Linked DNA regions of Homo sapiens: regions 1, 2, 3 and 4 are each linked to region 5. Evidence: promoter capture Hi-C in 16 types of primary human blood cells and fetal thymus (Javierre and others, 2016). All regions are on one chromosome and are shown on one strand. The core of a region is centred on a gene start or on the middle of the fragment in contact, and the rest is flanking DNA. Distances in the headings are between cores, read along the strand shown.

Region 1 (3,136 bases), core at 413-2,912, 270 kb before region 5:
GGAAAGACGCTGGGAGGTTGCTTAGGATGTGGGCCAAGAGGGTCAGAGAGGACCACCTACTTTTTAGAGGAAAGACGCTGGGAGGTTGCTTAGGATGTGGGCCAAGAGGGTCAGAGATTTTGCTTCACCTGAACTCACTGGGGCTTCTCCAGGGATATTAACCTGGACTTTAAGAGTCAGAGTGAGTCCCTGGGACTAGTTCAGCCCATCCAGGATTCAGACGGGAAGAAGGTGGGGCTGATTTTTCACCTGGAGAAAGAGAGGCATGTCCCACACAGACCTAACTCGGCATTGTCCCCTCCCAAACTCCCACCCCTCCACATAGCTTAAAAGTGTTGGGGGCTTCTCCAGTTTAGATGGGGGAACAAAGAGAACCAACAGCTGGAAAAAACTAGAGATGAGGCCGTTGGCCTAGTCATCATCCAGGCCGATTTCTCAGAACCACCACTTTCTCTTCGGCTACTTTGCCCATCCCATAAAAGAACCCCAAATCCTTCCTGTTCATTCCTCAGCAGTTCCCACGTTTCCTTCCAGAAACTCAGAAGGCACCAGGAACTGAATTGCAAAGTTCGTTAGAGCACAGACTCTGAATTAAAGAGCTGGGTTAAACTCCAGGCTATTCCCTTAGTAGCTGTGTGACCTTACCTGTCTGAAGCTTGGTTTTCTCCCAGTAAGATGGGGTAGTACTGCCTAAAGAGGTATATGGCATGTATAAAGTGCTCCATAAATGGAGCTTATTGGGAGAGTATAAGTCACAGGCCATGCCCCGCAAGGGGATGCACGAAGACCCACCGCGAGCCAGGAAGGGAGCACCGGGCTCTCTGCTCTGGGACCGGCAGTGAGCCGGACATCTGGGTCCTCCCAAGCCGGGCGGGCTGCCCCAGGGAGGAAGGGAGGGGGGCGAGCCTGAGCGGGCACCTCGGCCCGCAGGAGGTCTGCAGCGAGCTGTGGTGTCTGAGCAAGAGCAACCGGTGCATCACCAACAGCATCCCGGCCGCCGAGGGCACGCTGTGCCAGACGCACACCATCGACAAGGGGGTGAGCGCCGGCCAGGGCCCCCAACTGGGCCACGCCCCCTGAGCCACCTCCCGCGTTGGCCACGCCTACCCGCCTGTCCTTCGGCCTATTATCTGCTCCCTCCCACATTGGCCACGCCCGCCATTTGTGCTCCCTCGGCTGTGGCCACGCCTACTGCTTGCTCCTTCCCGCGTTGGCCACGCCCACCGTCTATGCGTCCCTTGGTTCTGGCCACGCCTACTGTTTAACTCCCTCCCGCGTTGGCCACGCCCACCGTGTAATGATTCCCACGGCTCTGGCCACGCCTACTGTTTGCTCTCTCCCTCATTGGCCACGCCCATCCCCTGTGCTGCCCTCGGCTCTGGCCACGCCTACTGCCTGTAGACCTCCCCTCCCCAGCCTGAAGCCACGCCCCACCTCGTCTCCACGCTTATCGTGGTCCTGTCTACACCCCTCCCCGTTAAGCACCCTGTGCTCAGGCCACGCCTCTCGCTTGTACCTGGTCTGTCTCCCAGACCACTCTCCTACGTAACCTGACTCTGTTCGCATGTTCAGACCCCGCCTCTGCCCATCCCGGAGAGGCTGATATCTCTGGCTGGGGCCTGGAGTGGGGAACGGTGCATGGGGCCGACGAGTGTCCTCCGGGCTGGACTCACTCCTTCCTGTCTCCCCCCACCCAGTGGTGCTACAAACGGGTCTGTGTCCCCTTTGGGTCGCGCCCAGAGGGTGTGGACGGAGCCTGGGGGCCGTGGACTCCATGGGGCGACTGCAGCCGGACCTGTGGCGGCGGCGTGTCCTCTTCTAGCCGTCACTGCGACAGCCCCAGGTCAGCCCTCAGGACCCCCACCCGGGAGGGCAGCGCGACCCCTGCCCCCATCGCCCACTGCCTCATCCCTCTCCTATCCCACCACCCTTTCCAGGCCAACCATCGGGGGCAAGTACTGTCTGGGTGAGAGAAGGCGGCACCGCTCCTGCAACACGGATGTGAGTTCCCCCAAACCCCTTGAGGGGTGGGGGGAGGAAGCATTAAAAACAGCTATCAGAGGCCGGGCACCGTGGCTCACGCCTGTAATCCCAACACTTTGGGAGGCCAAGGCAGGCGGATCACGAGGTCAGGAGATCGAGACCATCCTGGCTAACATAGTGAAACCCCGTCTCTACTAAAAATACAAAAATTAGCTGGGCGTGGTGGCAGGCGCCTGTAATCCCAGCTACTCGGGAGGCTGAGGCAGGAGAATCGCTTGAACCCGGGAGGCGGAGGCTGCAGTGAGCCGAGATCGCACCACTGCACTCCAGCCTGGGTGACAGAGCGAAACTCCATCTCAAAAAAAAAAAAAAAAACAAAAACGCTATCAGAGTGCTTCATCCAGGCACCTGCTGCCTCCTGGGGAACCTGCAGCCGCCACCCCTCTCTTCCCTCCTCTCCCTGACCCCCACCACCTTCTCGTCCCCAACCCCTCCTCCTTAAAGACCTGGCTCCTTCCAGCTCTCTTTTCCTCCTACATTTAGACTACAAGCCCCCACCTTGAAATCACTGCTTGGCCCTCACAACCCCCTACCATCCAGTCTCTCCCCTCCCTTTACAGCCCAACTTCCCCTGAAGAGTCCTACCCCTGCCTTCTGTCATCCCCCAAAGTTGTAGCTGAAGCTTCCTCTCACCAAACCCAGTGACAGGTGTCTGTCCTCTGCTTGTGCCCTCAGCTGACCTGCAACCATCAGTGAGCAGTGAGAAGTTTACTGGGGAGGGGGTGTTTTAGAGGGCAGTGAGAGCTTTGGACTTTTCAGCCTCCCAGCTGGGGGGAACCAGGTCTTCAGAGAATCCACATGCTAGCACTTTCTATAAACCCTGATCCCTTCCAGACCTTCTCTCTCAAGAAAGACTCCATGTGGCCAGGTGCAGTGGCTCACACCTATAATCCCAGCACTTTGGGAGGCTGAGGCAGGCAGATCACCTGAGGTCAGGAGTTCGAGACCATCCTGGCCAACATGGCAAAACCCCATCTCTACTAAAAATACAAAAATTAGGCCGGATGAGGTGGCTCATGCCTGCAATCCCAGCACTTTGGGAGGCCGAGGCGGGTCAATCACCTGAGGTCAGGAGTTCGAGACCAGCCTGGCT
Region 2 (2,960 bases), core at 450-2,949, 380 kb after region 5:
TCCTGGGCTTAAGCGATCCTCCCACCTCAGCCTTCTGAGTAGCTGGGACCACAGGTGTGTGACTCCACGGGGCCTGAGCACCAGGCTGGATGCAGCTTTCTCTTGTAGCTTGACAGGAGCCAGGGAGGGGGATCCCACCTGGAGCTGGTATACCCAACACAGCTGTGGAAAAGTTGACCACAGGCGGCCCCTTCCGCCTGATTGGATTATTGTATGATCATTCATTAAACTGTTTCTCTGTTGTTTTTTTGAAACAGAGTCTCACTCTGTCGCCCAGGCTGGAGTGCAGGGGCGAGATACCGCTCACTGCAACCTCCACCTCCCGAGTTCAAGCAGTTCTCCTGCCTCTGCCTCAGTAGCTGGGACTACAGGCAGGCGCCGCCACACCTGGCTAATTTTTGTATTTTTAGTAGAGACAAGGTTTCACCATGTTGGCCAGGCTTGTCTCGGACTCCTGGCCTCAAGTGATCCGCCCACCTCGGTCTCCCAAAGTGCTAGGATTACAGATATGAGCCACTGTGTCCAGCCTGCTTTTTTTTTTTTTTTTTTGAGATGGAGTCTCATTCCATCACCCAGGCTGGAGTGCAGTGGCACAATCTTGGCTCACTGCAACCTCCGGCTCCTGGGTTCAAGTGATTCTCCTGCCTCAGCCTCCTGAGTAGCTGGCATTACAGGCACCCACCACCACGCCCAGCTAATTTTTGTATTTTTAGTAGAGACGGGGGTTTCACTATGTTGGTCAGGCTGGTCTGGAACTCCTGACCTCAAGTGATCCACCCACCTTGGCCTCCCAAAGTGCTGAGATTACAGGCAGGAGCCACTGCGCCCGGCCTTGTTTTGCTTTCACAAGGCTTTATCTTTTGAGCAGTTTTAGGTTTACAGAAAAATCCAACAGAATGTCCAAAGAGTTGCCATGCCCCTCCTCTCCCATCTGGCACACAGTTTTCTATTCTTCACGTCCTGCATTAGTGTGGAGCATCTGTCACAATTGACAGGATGTTGATACATTATTATTAATAAATGCATGGTTTACCTTCCGGTTCCCTCTTGGTGGTGTACATTCTCTGTGATTACAGTATCATAAGAGTAGTTTCACTGCCCTAACATTTTTCTGTGTTCCCCCCTACTCATCTCACCCTCTTCCTACCAAACCCCTGGCAACCACTGATCTTTTACTGTCCCCTTAGTTTTGCCTTTTCCAGAACGGTCTATAGTTGGAATCAGACAGTATGTAGCCTTTTCAGATTGGCTTCTTTCACTTAGTGCAATATACATTTAAGGTTCCTCTGTGTCTTTTCACAGCTTGAGAGCATATTTCTTGCTTGTTTTTTAAATTATTTTATTTTATTTTATTTGAGATGGAGTCTCGCTCTGTCACCCAGACTGGAGTGCTGTGGCATAATCTTGGCTCACTGCAGCCTCTTCCTCCTGGGTTCAAGCAATTCTTGTGCCTCAGCCTTCTGAGGAGCTGGGACTAAAGGCACACACCACCATGCGCAGCTAACTTTTGCATTTTTAGTAGAGATGAGGTTTCACCATTTTGGCCAGGCTGGTCTCGAACTCCTGACCTCAGGTGATCTGCCCGCCTCAGCCTCCCAAAGTACTGGGATTACAGGCGTGAACCACCGCGCCCAGCCTGTTTTTTAAATAGGGTGCTGTGTTGCCCAGGTTGGTCTTAAAACTCATGACCTCAAGCAATCCTCCCTCCTCAGCCTCCTAAAGTGGCTGAGAGCTCATTTTTTTTTCAGCACTGAATAATATTCTGTTGTCTGGATATACCACACTTTTATCACCTGCTGTTTCTTTGTTTTTTATGATTATTATAAAAGAGATAGCTAATCATCATTAAATGTATATCAACCGAAAAGAGAACATTTAAAAAAATCCCTGAGTCCCTCTGTGGGGCATTTCATTCTATGTTCTACTATGTTCTTTAAATTTTTTTTCTTGTACATTCTTTCTAGTCCAAATCATATTCTTCTGGAAACAGAAAAGGCTTTCTGTCCGGCTTGCTAGATAATGTCAAACAAGAATTAGCCAAAAACAAAGAAATGAAAGAAAGTATAAAAAAATTCCGTGACGAGGCCAGAAGGCTAGAAGAATCAGACGTGCTCCAGGAGGCCAGAAGGAAATACGTGAGTTTCTTTGCTGCTTTTTTTTCCCTCACCCAGGCTGGAGAGTAGTGGTGCGATCTCGGCTCACTGCAACCTCCACCTCCCAGGTTCAAGTGATTCCCCTGCCTCAGCCTCCTGAGTAGCTGGGCTTACAGGCGCGCACCACCACGCCCAGCTAATTTTTGTATTTTTAGTAGTGAAGAGGTTTCACCATGTTGGCCAGGCTGGTCTCGAACTCCTGACCTCAAGTGATCCGCCCGCCTCAGCCTTCCAAAGTGCTGGGATTACAGGCGTGAGCCACCGCGTTGGGCCCCTTTGCTTCTTACCTTTCTTGGTTGACATGTTTGTTTCCAGGGCCAGGGTTTCTCCAGGCCAGGGACAGCCAGAGGAGCTCAGGGCTGGACGGTTGGGGGCAGGGTGGCTCGTGAGGAAGTGAGGTCACTGCTCTGATGCACTAATGAGAGGGAGCCAGGGGACAGGTGCGGGTCTCCAGGCCTCTGGGTTCTGCCATGAGACCATGCAGCGTTCTGTGCAGCTTGAAGCGTGGTCCCCAGACCAGCAGCAGTGGCTCCTCCTGGGAGTGGATGAGCAGTGCAGAGGCTCACACCCTCCCAAACTGCCAGGCCAGCGCCCGCATCTTCACAGGCCCCCAGGCAACGCATGCACACCAGCTATGGGATGCAGCGCTCCTGAGAGCTCCCAGCTGTAGCCCTCTGAGTGGAGCCTGGTGGAAACTGGGTGATGGTGCTGGTATTTTATTTTATTTTATTTTATTTTATGAGATGGAGTCTTGCTCTGTCATCCAGGCTGGAGTGCAGTGGCGTGACCTTGGCTCACTGCAACCTC
Region 3 (2,900 bases), core at 73-2,572, 320 kb after region 5:
AGAGCAAGACCCTTTCTCAAAAGAAAAATAAGTAAAAATAGAAGTGAGCTGGGAGGCCAGGCATGGTGGCTCACACCTGCAATTCCAGCACTTTGGGAGGCCAAAGTAGGAGGATCACTTGAGCTTGGGAGTTCAAGACCAGCCTGGGCAACAAAGAGAGACCCCCATCTCTTTAAAAAAAAATACTAATTTTAAAAAATGAGCTGGGAAGTGAAGGAGAGGACACTAGTGCCCTGCAGAGGGAACAGCCAAAGCAGAGGCCTGTAGCATATTGGCAAGAAGCTGGAGTGAGCGGGAAGGGAGGGTGGCGACTGAGGCTGGAGAACCACCTGGGTCCGATTGTGAAGGGCCTTGCCAGTTTGACAGTTGCATTGTCATGACAACTTGAGGCCTGGCCCTGCCACTTATTAATGGCATGCCTGACCGTGAGCATCATCGTGTGACCGCCGAGCCTCAATGGGTGGTGACCACTGACAGGGAATACCAGAGGGGTGAGCATCTTGATTGCAGGACAGTGCAGGCCTTGCACCTCGAGAGACAGAAGTGGCTACGACTTGGGAGTCAGTGATAATTGAGTGGTGACAAGGCCCAGTTGTGGTTGGAGCTTGTGGGATAGAAGCTGATTTGGCCCAGGATTGATGATGCAGATTTGGAGAAGGTCAAGGGAAGGGCCTCCAGAGAGTGGGGTGGGGGCCCAGAAACGTCATGAAACTGCTTTGCAGGGCAGGTTGTTGGTTTCTCCCGTGTTACTAGTTGACCAAGAACTTGACCTGCAGGGGCTGCTCAGCCTTGACTCAGAGTGTCAGGAGGAACAGGGCCGCAAAGCAGAAGTTCTCTTTTTAAACCTTTTAAAATTTATTTTTATTGTGGTTTTGTTGTTGTTTTTGAGGCAGGATCTCACTCTGTCGCCCACGCTGGACTGCAGTGGCACAATCATAGCTAACTGCAGTATTGACCTCCCAGGCTCTAGTGATCCTCCCAGCTGAGCCCCCCGATTAGCTGGGATTGCATACAGGTGTGCATCACCATTCCTGGGTAATTTTTAATTTTTTTTTTTTTTGTAATGATGGCATCTCTCTGTGCTGCCCAGGCTGGTCTTGAACTCCAGGCTTAAGCAGTCCTCCCACCTTGGCCTCTGAAAGCGCTGGGATTAAAGGCATGAGTCGCCACACTCAGACAATTTATTTTTAAATTTGCATGTAGGAAAATTCATTTTTTCGAGTAGAGTTCTCTGAGTTTTGACAAACGGATAAAGTTGTTTGATTACCACCATAATAAAGATTGGAAAGTTCGCTCTCCCACAAACAGAAATACTCCCTCCTCCTGTCCCTGTGTAATCGACTTTTCCCCTCACTCCCTAACCCCAGCGACCACAGATCCATCCCTATGGTTTTGCCTTTTCCAGGAAGGCACAGAAATGATGTGGCAAGATGTGTTTGAGATTCACACAAGTAGCATGAATTGGTGATACCTTTTATTGCCAGGTGGTATTCTGTTGTATGGTGTATCCCAGTTTATCCATGAATGGCTTGAAGAATATTTGGGTTGTTGTAGTTTTGGATGATTATGAATAATGCCGCTCTGCACATTTATATACAGATTTTTGTGTGAATATAGATTTTCCTTTCTATTGCCTTAATACTAGGAGTAGGATTGCTGGATCCCATGCTAAGTGTATATTTCACCATAAGAAACTGCCAATCTGTTTTCCAAAGTGGCTGTCACATTTCACATTTTTGCATTCCCACCAGCAGTGCATGAATATTCTGGCTTCTCCACATCCCTGCCAGCACTTGACATTGTCTGTTTTGTTGCTGTTGGTTGTTTTTTGTTTTATTTTGCTTTAGCCATTCTAATAAGTGGGTAGCGGTGTCTCGATGTGGTTTTAATTTGACTAATGATGTTGAGCATCTTTTCATGTGCCTGTCTGCCATCCATATATATTCTTTGGTATAGTATCTGTTCAAATCTTTTGCCATTTTTGAAACCAGGTTGTTTGCTCATTATGTTGTTTTTGGTTTTTGGAGATGGAGTCTGGCCCTATCGCCCAGTTTGGAGTACAGTGGCGCCATCTCGGCTCATTGCAACCTCTGCCTCCCAGGTTCAAGCGATTCTCCTGCCTCAGCCTCCCCAGTAACTGAGATTACAGATGCCCACCACCACGCCTTGCTAATTTTTTTTTTGTTGTATTTTTGTAGAGATGGGGTTTCACCATGTTGGCCGGACTGGTCTCAAACTCCTGACCTCAGGTGATCCACCCACCTCGGCCTCCCAAAGTGCTGGAATTCCAGGCATGAGCCAGCACACTAGCCTGCTTCTGTTTTGAGAGCTTAAAAAAAAGTGTTCTGGGCCAGGCGTGGTGGCTCACGCCTGTAATCCCAGCACTTTGGGAGGCCGAGGTGGGCAGATGGGCAGATCACGAGGTCAGGAGATGGAGACCATCCTGGCTAACACGGTGAAACCCCGTCTCTACTAAAAATACAAAAAATTAGCTGGGCATGGTGGCGGGCGCCTGTAGTCCCAGCTACTTGGGAGGCTGAGGCAGGAGAATGGCATGAACCCGGGAGGTGGAGCTTGCAGTGAGCGGAGATCATGCCACTGCACTCCAGCCTGGGTGACAGAGCAAGACTCCATTTCAAAAAAAAAAAAAAAAGGGTTCTGGGTTGGGTGAGGTGGCTTACGCCTATAATTCTAATACTTTGAGAGGCCAAGATGGGAGGATCACTTGACACCAGGAATTCAAGACCAGCGTGGGCAACATAGTGAGACCCTATCTCGACAAAAAATAAAAAATTAGCCAGAAGGCTGAGGCAGGAGGATTGCTTGAACCCAAGAGTTTGTGGCTGCAGTGAGCTATGATTATGGCATTGCACTTCAGCCTGGGCAGTGGAGTGAGACTT
Region 4 (2,928 bases), core at 147-2,646, 360 kb after region 5:
AACACTCAGCAGAAAAGTACTTACTTCTTGCCAGTTATCTATTAACCAAAACCTTTGATTTGTAGTTTTAAAGATTAACCCTCAAAGTTCTCTTCATAACTGCCTTGACATTTTGGGTTGTTCTGTTCTGTTAATTTTCTTTTGCTTTTTTGTGTTTTTTGTTTGTTTTTACTTTTGCATTTAAGACCATTAAATTTGATTTTGTTTTGCTCGAATTTTGTTTTGTTTTTTATTTTACCTTTTCTTTCTTTTTGGCTAGGGAAGGTGCAGGTGGCCCAGCATTCAGGGAGGAGTCGTAAGATCTTAAGAAACCAATCCTTGCCTCAAGCAAAAGCATTTCTGAATCTGTGACGCAAGAATGTGCAGTTACAGGCTGGTGGCTTTTAAACCAGGAGCCCGGAGGAAGGGTGAAAGAGAAAGCCTGTGAAATAGGCAGGGCCAGATCACCCAAAACTCCTCAGGACTGGGATCTGGCGTTTATAAATAACTAGTTTACAGAGAGAATCACAAACAGGATAACTTAGTACCAGCAGTTTTTAACCTTGACGTGAGACTAAAACGTGACCGTAGGCTGTTTTTTAGTTATTGCTCTCATGAGATGATGGCTGTATTTATCTGTTTATTTATACCTATTTATGTATTTATTTATTGAAGTGTGAAATTGAGCAATAGGCAGGCACCACCGTCCCCAGAGCAGGTCAGCGTCTCGAGAGGCCCCTGGACAATTGAGGATGCCCATCCCCTCCCCTTTCCCTGATCTTTTACTGAGGGGCTGTGTGCGCGATCCTTGCAAATTGATGATGTTGCCATCCGTACCCAGGCTGTGTCTCATAAAAGTCGGCCTGGTGCCAGAGAGGACCTCCTTTCTCCCACAGAATCCCAGATCCTCAGGAAAAGCCAAAACCGAGGCCCATTGCCCGGATTCGACACAAAAGAGGGTCCCTGCTCTGTTGCCCGAGAGCAGTCTGCATCCTGGGACCAGAATGCTTTCCTGGAAAAAGAAGCCTTTCAGGTTTCCCTGGGCCAGCATCTTCTGATGGAAGGTGGGAGCCAACACCCTTCTGATGGAAGGTGGGAGCCAACACCCTTCTGATGGAAGGTGGGAGCCAACACCCTTCTGATGGAAGGTGGGAGCCAACACCCTTCTGATGGAAGGTGGGAGCCAACACCCTTCTGATGGAAGGCGGGATTCCCGCTTCTGAAACTCCCCCTGGAGTCTCACTCCCACACATGCCCATAGCTAGCATTCAACAGAGAACTCTGTCTTAAGCTTCAACTGTGAAAATGATGACGGGCTTGTAGCACCTCAGCTTCTTTCCTCGCCCCCTTTTATCTGAATCCTATCAATTATTCTGATGCTGGGACAGGTGAGAAGAAACTGTGAAGTATATGAGCCTTTGAAAGTTCCCTGAAGTTTCTCAGTTCAGGAACATTCTCATTGTATGTGGTCTCCGCTGTTTGAACAGCCTTCTAGCTAAAAAATTCCAAAGCCTTTATTTGGGAGTCTTAGCTTGCAAGCTTGTGGAAGGATTTAGCTTAACAACTGTCACTCCTGAAAAGCAATCTCTGTTCCATCAAGGTTCTAGTTGCTGGCCCTGTGTCCTCAAAGTTCATTACATCTTATCAAGGCCTGTTTGCAAAGGGGAGATCCCTTTTCTTAAAAAAGGCTCAACCCAAAAGAAACCATTTCTTAAAAAATTTTACATAGATCAGTTGTATTTCTATTTAGCAAAAATGAGTGCTCTGCTTTTATTTGGGAATTTCGATGAAAAAGCGTTCAGAGTAGATAATGTTCATTTATCAAAAATCTGGTTTGGGAAATACCAAAGAGGCTTTGATTGAATTCCCTTTTGACCCGTGTGTAACTTCCTCTGGTAGTTAGACCCCAGGCAGCTCCGAATTTGTGAACCTGCTTCCTGATGAATTCTCCCTTGTTCCCCCTTGGCTCTGCCATTATTTCGTTTTCAGTGTAATTTGCCAAGCCGCAGTTTTCTGTGCTGGCTGTGCCTCTAGTCGCAGCTCTGTGACTGATTCCCTCCCGGGTGCTGAGTCCCCTCCCCGGCCACCATCCTGCGTGAATATCCTGAAATTCATGGGCTTCCTCGGGGGCCCGCCCGCAGGTGGTGCTGGGTGGGTTCCGCCACCTTCTCCTGGAAGGTGAGCCTTTTCCTGGCCAAGGGCAGCTGCCTTAACCTCTGAGAGTCTGCGCTTGGCCTTAGTCCTGGAGACCCAGCCTCCAGGGACTGAACCGTGCTGCTGTTGGGAGCCAAGACCGGCCCTTTGGAGCCGGCAGCCCAGGGGTCCCTGCTGGATCAGAGAAATAGAAGCACCCGAAGACGGTTAGTGGCAATTCCTTGACCCGGTTTGCTTCCAAATGAAGGCCATTTGTCCACCAGGCATTGAAAAGACATGACTTACCCAGTCCGGCATCGGACTTGAAAAATCGAAATTGACATCACTCAGCTGTTACATTTCACATCCGATTCAGCCCCCTTTTATTTCCATGTGCTTTTCGCAGCCTTCCTGTGTTGGATGAAAGAGAATAAGAATTCAGCTGACAGGAGGCCTCTATCCTGTCCCTCCACCCCACCCTCCACCTCAATCCCCTCCCATCTTCCCCAGACCTACCTCACCTACTAGGACCTGAGGCAGCTCCTTAGCAGAGACCCCTGGGGTTTAGCTGACTCTGGGGGTCAGGGGTTCCTGTCCCCAAACTTCGCAAGACAGCCCTGAAGTCACAAGTGCTTTCTTTTAAGTGGCATTGGCAATTGGCGTGTAATGATGGCAGTAGAATCTGAATCTCGGATCCCAGGCAGGGTTCACATTTCCAAACCTTTTTGATTTCCCCTGACCTCTAATGGCTGGATCCTATTTTTCTACAACCTTTCAGTGACATCGTTCAGGTTTCTTTCTTGGCCATTTAAAAAA
Region 5 (3,251 bases), core at 425-2,924:
TGGATACAAACCAGGCAGCCTGGGTCCATGGTAAAAGAACCTCCACTAAGTGAGGCTGGGGCTGAATCCCACGTTTCCTGCCTCAAGGAGATTGCAGCAGGCCCCCCTCTTTTCCCCTCTCTCCAGAGCGAGTCACCCCCTGGCTCCCAGACAGCCACACCTGGTGAAGGAGAATGCGGTGACAATGGAGAGAACCCCCAGGTTCAGTAAGCTGCCTCGTCTGGCTCACTACACCTAGCTGTGGGGAGATCTCCTCGTCAGTCACCTCAGCCTTTGGCGCACAGAAGGGTCCAGGGTCCCCTGCTCAGAGGCTAACACTGGCCGAAGAGAAAGGCAATTTCAGTTGGGGTGACTGTGGCAGGAAGGGGCTCACTCTGGCCCCACCAAGGTGAGGTGGGGACCAAGTGATAGAGCCCTGATCCACCCACTCTCTGAAACTTCTTTGCTAATAAAACATTCCTACTACGCTTGTGTTTTGTTTGGGGTAGAGGGTGCAATCGACAAACACGACCCCCCGCCTCAAAAAGGAAAAGCTTCGTTTGGCAAGACCGCACGGCCAGGATTTCCAGAGTGCGGAGGATCGGTGACCGCCTGGGAGCCACTCAAGAAACCTGGAGAAACCCTAGTCGTATAACCCAGACAAGAACCTGAGTTAACTTGAAACACAAACGCTTTATTTAAAGGAGCATCTCAGTTACGTGTGGCGGACAAAAAAAAGGAGCAGACTGTGACAGACCATTCCCATCGGCCAAGTGGTCGAACCCGACATCCAAGACCCTGTAAACAGACCCAAACATGAGATGTTGACAGGCCCCGCAGCAATTGGCAAACTCCCGCCTCCCTCTTGTCAGTCTCTGTATGTAGACTCTGCCTCCCAAACCCTCTCACCCTGGGCTTAACGAAGCCTCCCTACCACCAACCAAAGGTCTATCAAAGGGGTGTCCTCTTTGCACCCACCAGCGAGCAGCCAAGCTCAGCGCAACCTCCGGGCTTCTCGCTCTGACTCCAAAAGGGTGAGCACGTCGCCCTCGCGCACGGGGCCTTTTACATTGCGGATGATGGATCGGCTCGTGTCGTCCATGAATTCCACGCGCACCTACGGGTCCCCACCGGAGTGGAGGAAGAAGTAAGGGCGGGCCGCGGAAAGGCACCGCGGAGTGGGAAGCAGATATGAATTCAGAGAACGTGTCGGGGCCAGAATACAGATCGTTAAAGGGAACCATCAGAACCCCGTGATGAAATGAGAATCGGCTCCCGGATTCCGGCTGGCAGGGGTTAGGGCAGGGTAGAGGTCACATCAGGGTTTAGGTCGCCGGCAGTCGGCCAAATGCCCCCACCCGATTACCTGCGTGCACTGTCCCTGAGAACCGGTCCTGCCCAGGACCTTGGTGACCTGGAGGAAAGAAGCTGGGTTCAGACCCGGCCCGTTTGGCTCCTCTAATCCCTCCCCCTGCCCCCAAATTCGGGCCCCCACCTCACCCTGGCCAGCTTGATAGGCTGCACACGGCTGGTGTCCATGATGGCGGCGCGGCGGCGGTCTGGCGGAGAGGAGTCACGTGCTTCGGGGAGAGCCTTTATAGGACGTTCTAGCACCGCCCACTCCCGTCTCGCGATACCACGCCGCGTCTTTCCCAGCAGCCCCAGCGGTGGAGACGTCACCGGCTGCGCCCTTCAGTATCGCGGACGGAAGATGGCGTCCGCCACCCGTCTCATCCAGCGGCTGCGGAACTGGGCGTCCGGGGTGCGCGGGGCGGACAGGGCTGCACCATGGGGGGCTTCGGGCTCCGTGTGTCCGGGACCCGCTCCTGCTCCTCACCTCCCTCCTAAGCCGGGACCCTTCGCTCTCCCCGAATCTCCCTGGGAACCCCCAGCTAGTCACCCCTTCAGCCCGGGACCCTCTCCTGGCCTGGGAACCACTCAGGCCTGGGATTTCCCCAGTCCCCGACCTTCTTAGCCTTGGATCTGTGGGCCCGGACTCTGGCTTTGCTCTTCACCTGCAGGACCCACATCCGTTTCCCCGAGTGTTCATCCCCTGCCTTCCCTTAAAATGCGCATCCCCGGACCATCCCTGGTCCCTTGCCCTCTCCTTTCCTCTCTCCTGGGGTGCCTTGCAGGCCGACCTCTCCTCTCCTCTTCCCACAGCATGACCTGCAGGGGAAGCTGCAGCTACGCTACCAGGAGATCTCCAAGCGGTGAGCAGGCCCCGCTCGCTGCCCAGCCTCTGGCTCTGTCCTTTCTCCACCAAAAACGAAATCTGTGTTCCTTTAGACCCCTGAAACGGAGGGCTGACATCCTGCCACCAGTCCCCTGCCAGGCTGTGGAGGCAGAGGTTTGCCTTTAACCTTGCTGAACTCCGGAGGACAGCCCTCCTGAAACAGCGAGGCCGGGCGTGCATTCTGACTGGCAATCAGGCTAGATTTGCAGTGCTCAGCGTGGCCATGTTAGTCAGTGTTATCCCCAAGCTACAGATGAAAAAAGAGGTCCAGAGAGGCGAAATCATTTGCCTCAAGTCACTCAGAAGCTAAAAAGTGGCAGCGGGGACTTGAACCCAGAAGTGTCCTGATTTCAGACTCATTTATATTAAAATATTAGTTGATATTTACAAGCCCCCGTCATGTATGACCTCAGCCTTGGGTTTAACTTTGTGAACCAGGAAAGTTCTTATCCACATTCTTTCATGGACGCCACATTCTAGGGAGAAGCATAGTAGGGAAACAAACACAGCAGGTAGTATTGTTCTGGAATGCTTTGAAGACAAAACAAAATAAGTGGAAGCTGGAGGGTGGCTACGTAAAGTCAGATGATTGGGAAAGATCTTTCTTTGGAAATTGACAGTTGAGTCCCCTGAATGATGGGAAGGACCCATTCAAAGAATAATTATTGAAAAAACATTCTGACCGGGCGCGGTGGCTCACGCTTGTGATCCCAGCACTTGGGGAGGCTGAGGCAGGCGGATCACGAGGTCAGGAGTTTGAGACCAGCCTGGCCAACACAGTGAAACACAGTAAAACCCCCTCTCTACTAGAAATACAAAAATTAGCCGGGCGTGGTGGCGCGCGCGGGTAGTCCCAGCTACTCGGGAGGTTGAGGCAGGAGAATCGCTTGAACACAGGAGGTGGATATTGCAGTGAGCTGAGATCGCACCACTGCACTCCAGCCTGGGTGACAGAACAACACTCTGTCTCAAAAAAATAAAAAAGAAAAAACATTCTGAGCAGAGGGAACAGGAAGGGCTAAGAGTGTCAGGCTGG

What was found. The method cuts DNA at HindIII sites, captures the fragments that hold promoters and counts their contacts. A CHiCAGO score of 5 or more calls a contact.
Region 1: a fragment that was not itself captured here is called in contact with the fragment with the promoter of NDUFA7 in region 5 in 3 of 17 cell types (total CD4 T cells, naive CD4 T cells and naive CD8 T cells); the score reaches 6.2 in total CD4 T cells.
Region 2: a fragment that was not itself captured here is called in contact with the fragment with the promoter of NDUFA7 in region 5 in 2 of 17 cell types (naive CD8 T cells and naive CD4 T cells); the score reaches 5.5 in naive CD8 T cells.
Region 3: a contact is called between a fragment that was not itself captured here and the fragment with the promoter of NDUFA7 in region 5, in 1 of 17 cell types (naive CD8 T cells). The highest score is 5.8, in naive CD8 T cells.
Region 4: a contact is called between a fragment that was not itself captured here and the fragment with the promoter of NDUFA7 in region 5, in 1 of 17 cell types (erythroblasts). The highest score is 5.3, in erythroblasts.

Annotation. Positions count from the first base shown.
Region 1 is chr19:8,590,665-8,593,800 of GRCh38, reverse strand. It overlaps ADAMTS10 (ADAM metallopeptidase with thrombospondin type 1 motif 10), which reads left to right. Exons shown (of 26, transcript NM_030957.4): 13 at 931-1,038; 14 at 1,698-1,843; 15 at 1,938-2,001. Among named protein-coding and RNA genes, the nearest start is that of MYO1F, 15 kb to the right of the region's middle. RefSeq lists an enhancer at 1,402-2,000. The HindIII fragment of the contact is 2,010 bases long and covers 658-2,667 here.
Region 2 is chr19:7,937,202-7,940,161 of GRCh38, reverse strand. TIMM44 (translocase of inner mitochondrial membrane 44) reads left to right here. Exons shown (of 13, transcript NM_006351.4): 3 at 1,965-2,135. Among named protein-coding and RNA genes, the nearest start is that of TIMM44, 5.0 kb to the left of the region's middle. The HindIII fragment of the contact is 6,740 bases long and covers 1-2,960 here.
Region 3 is chr19:7,995,937-7,998,836 of GRCh38, reverse strand. The region is part of intron 1 of ELAVL1 (ELAV like RNA binding protein 1); the gene reads left to right. Among named protein-coding and RNA genes, the nearest start is that of ELAVL1, 8.3 kb to the left of the region's middle. The HindIII fragment of the contact is 4,520 bases long and covers 1-2,900 here.
Region 4 is chr19:7,959,560-7,962,487 of GRCh38, reverse strand. It overlaps ELAVL1 (ELAV like RNA binding protein 1), which reads left to right. Exons shown (of 6, transcript NM_001419.3): 6 at 1-2,928. Among named protein-coding and RNA genes, the nearest start is that of TIMM44, 17 kb to the right of the region's middle. The HindIII fragment of the contact is 248 bases long and covers 1,273-1,520 here.
Region 5 is chr19:8,319,798-8,323,048 of GRCh38, reverse strand. It overlaps NDUFA7 (NADH:ubiquinone oxidoreductase subunit A7), which reads left to right and starts at 1,674. Exons shown (of 4, transcript NM_005001.5): 1 at 1,674-1,741; 2 at 2,143-2,192. The coding sequence starts at 1,691. It overlaps RPS28 (ribosomal protein S28), which reads right to left and starts at 1,553. Exons shown (of 4, transcript NM_001031.5): 1 at 1,480-1,553; 2 at 1,346-1,393; 3 at 958-1,096; 4 at 1-777. The coding sequence starts at 1,518. The coding sequence ends at 974. KANK3 (KN motif and ankyrin repeat domains 3) reads left to right here. Exons shown (of 11, transcript NM_198471.3): 11 at 127-465. The coding sequence ends at 210. RefSeq lists enhancers at 1-650, 651-1,618, 1,525-1,764, 1,619-2,586, 2,587-3,251. The HindIII fragment of the contact is 9,773 bases long and covers 536-3,251 here.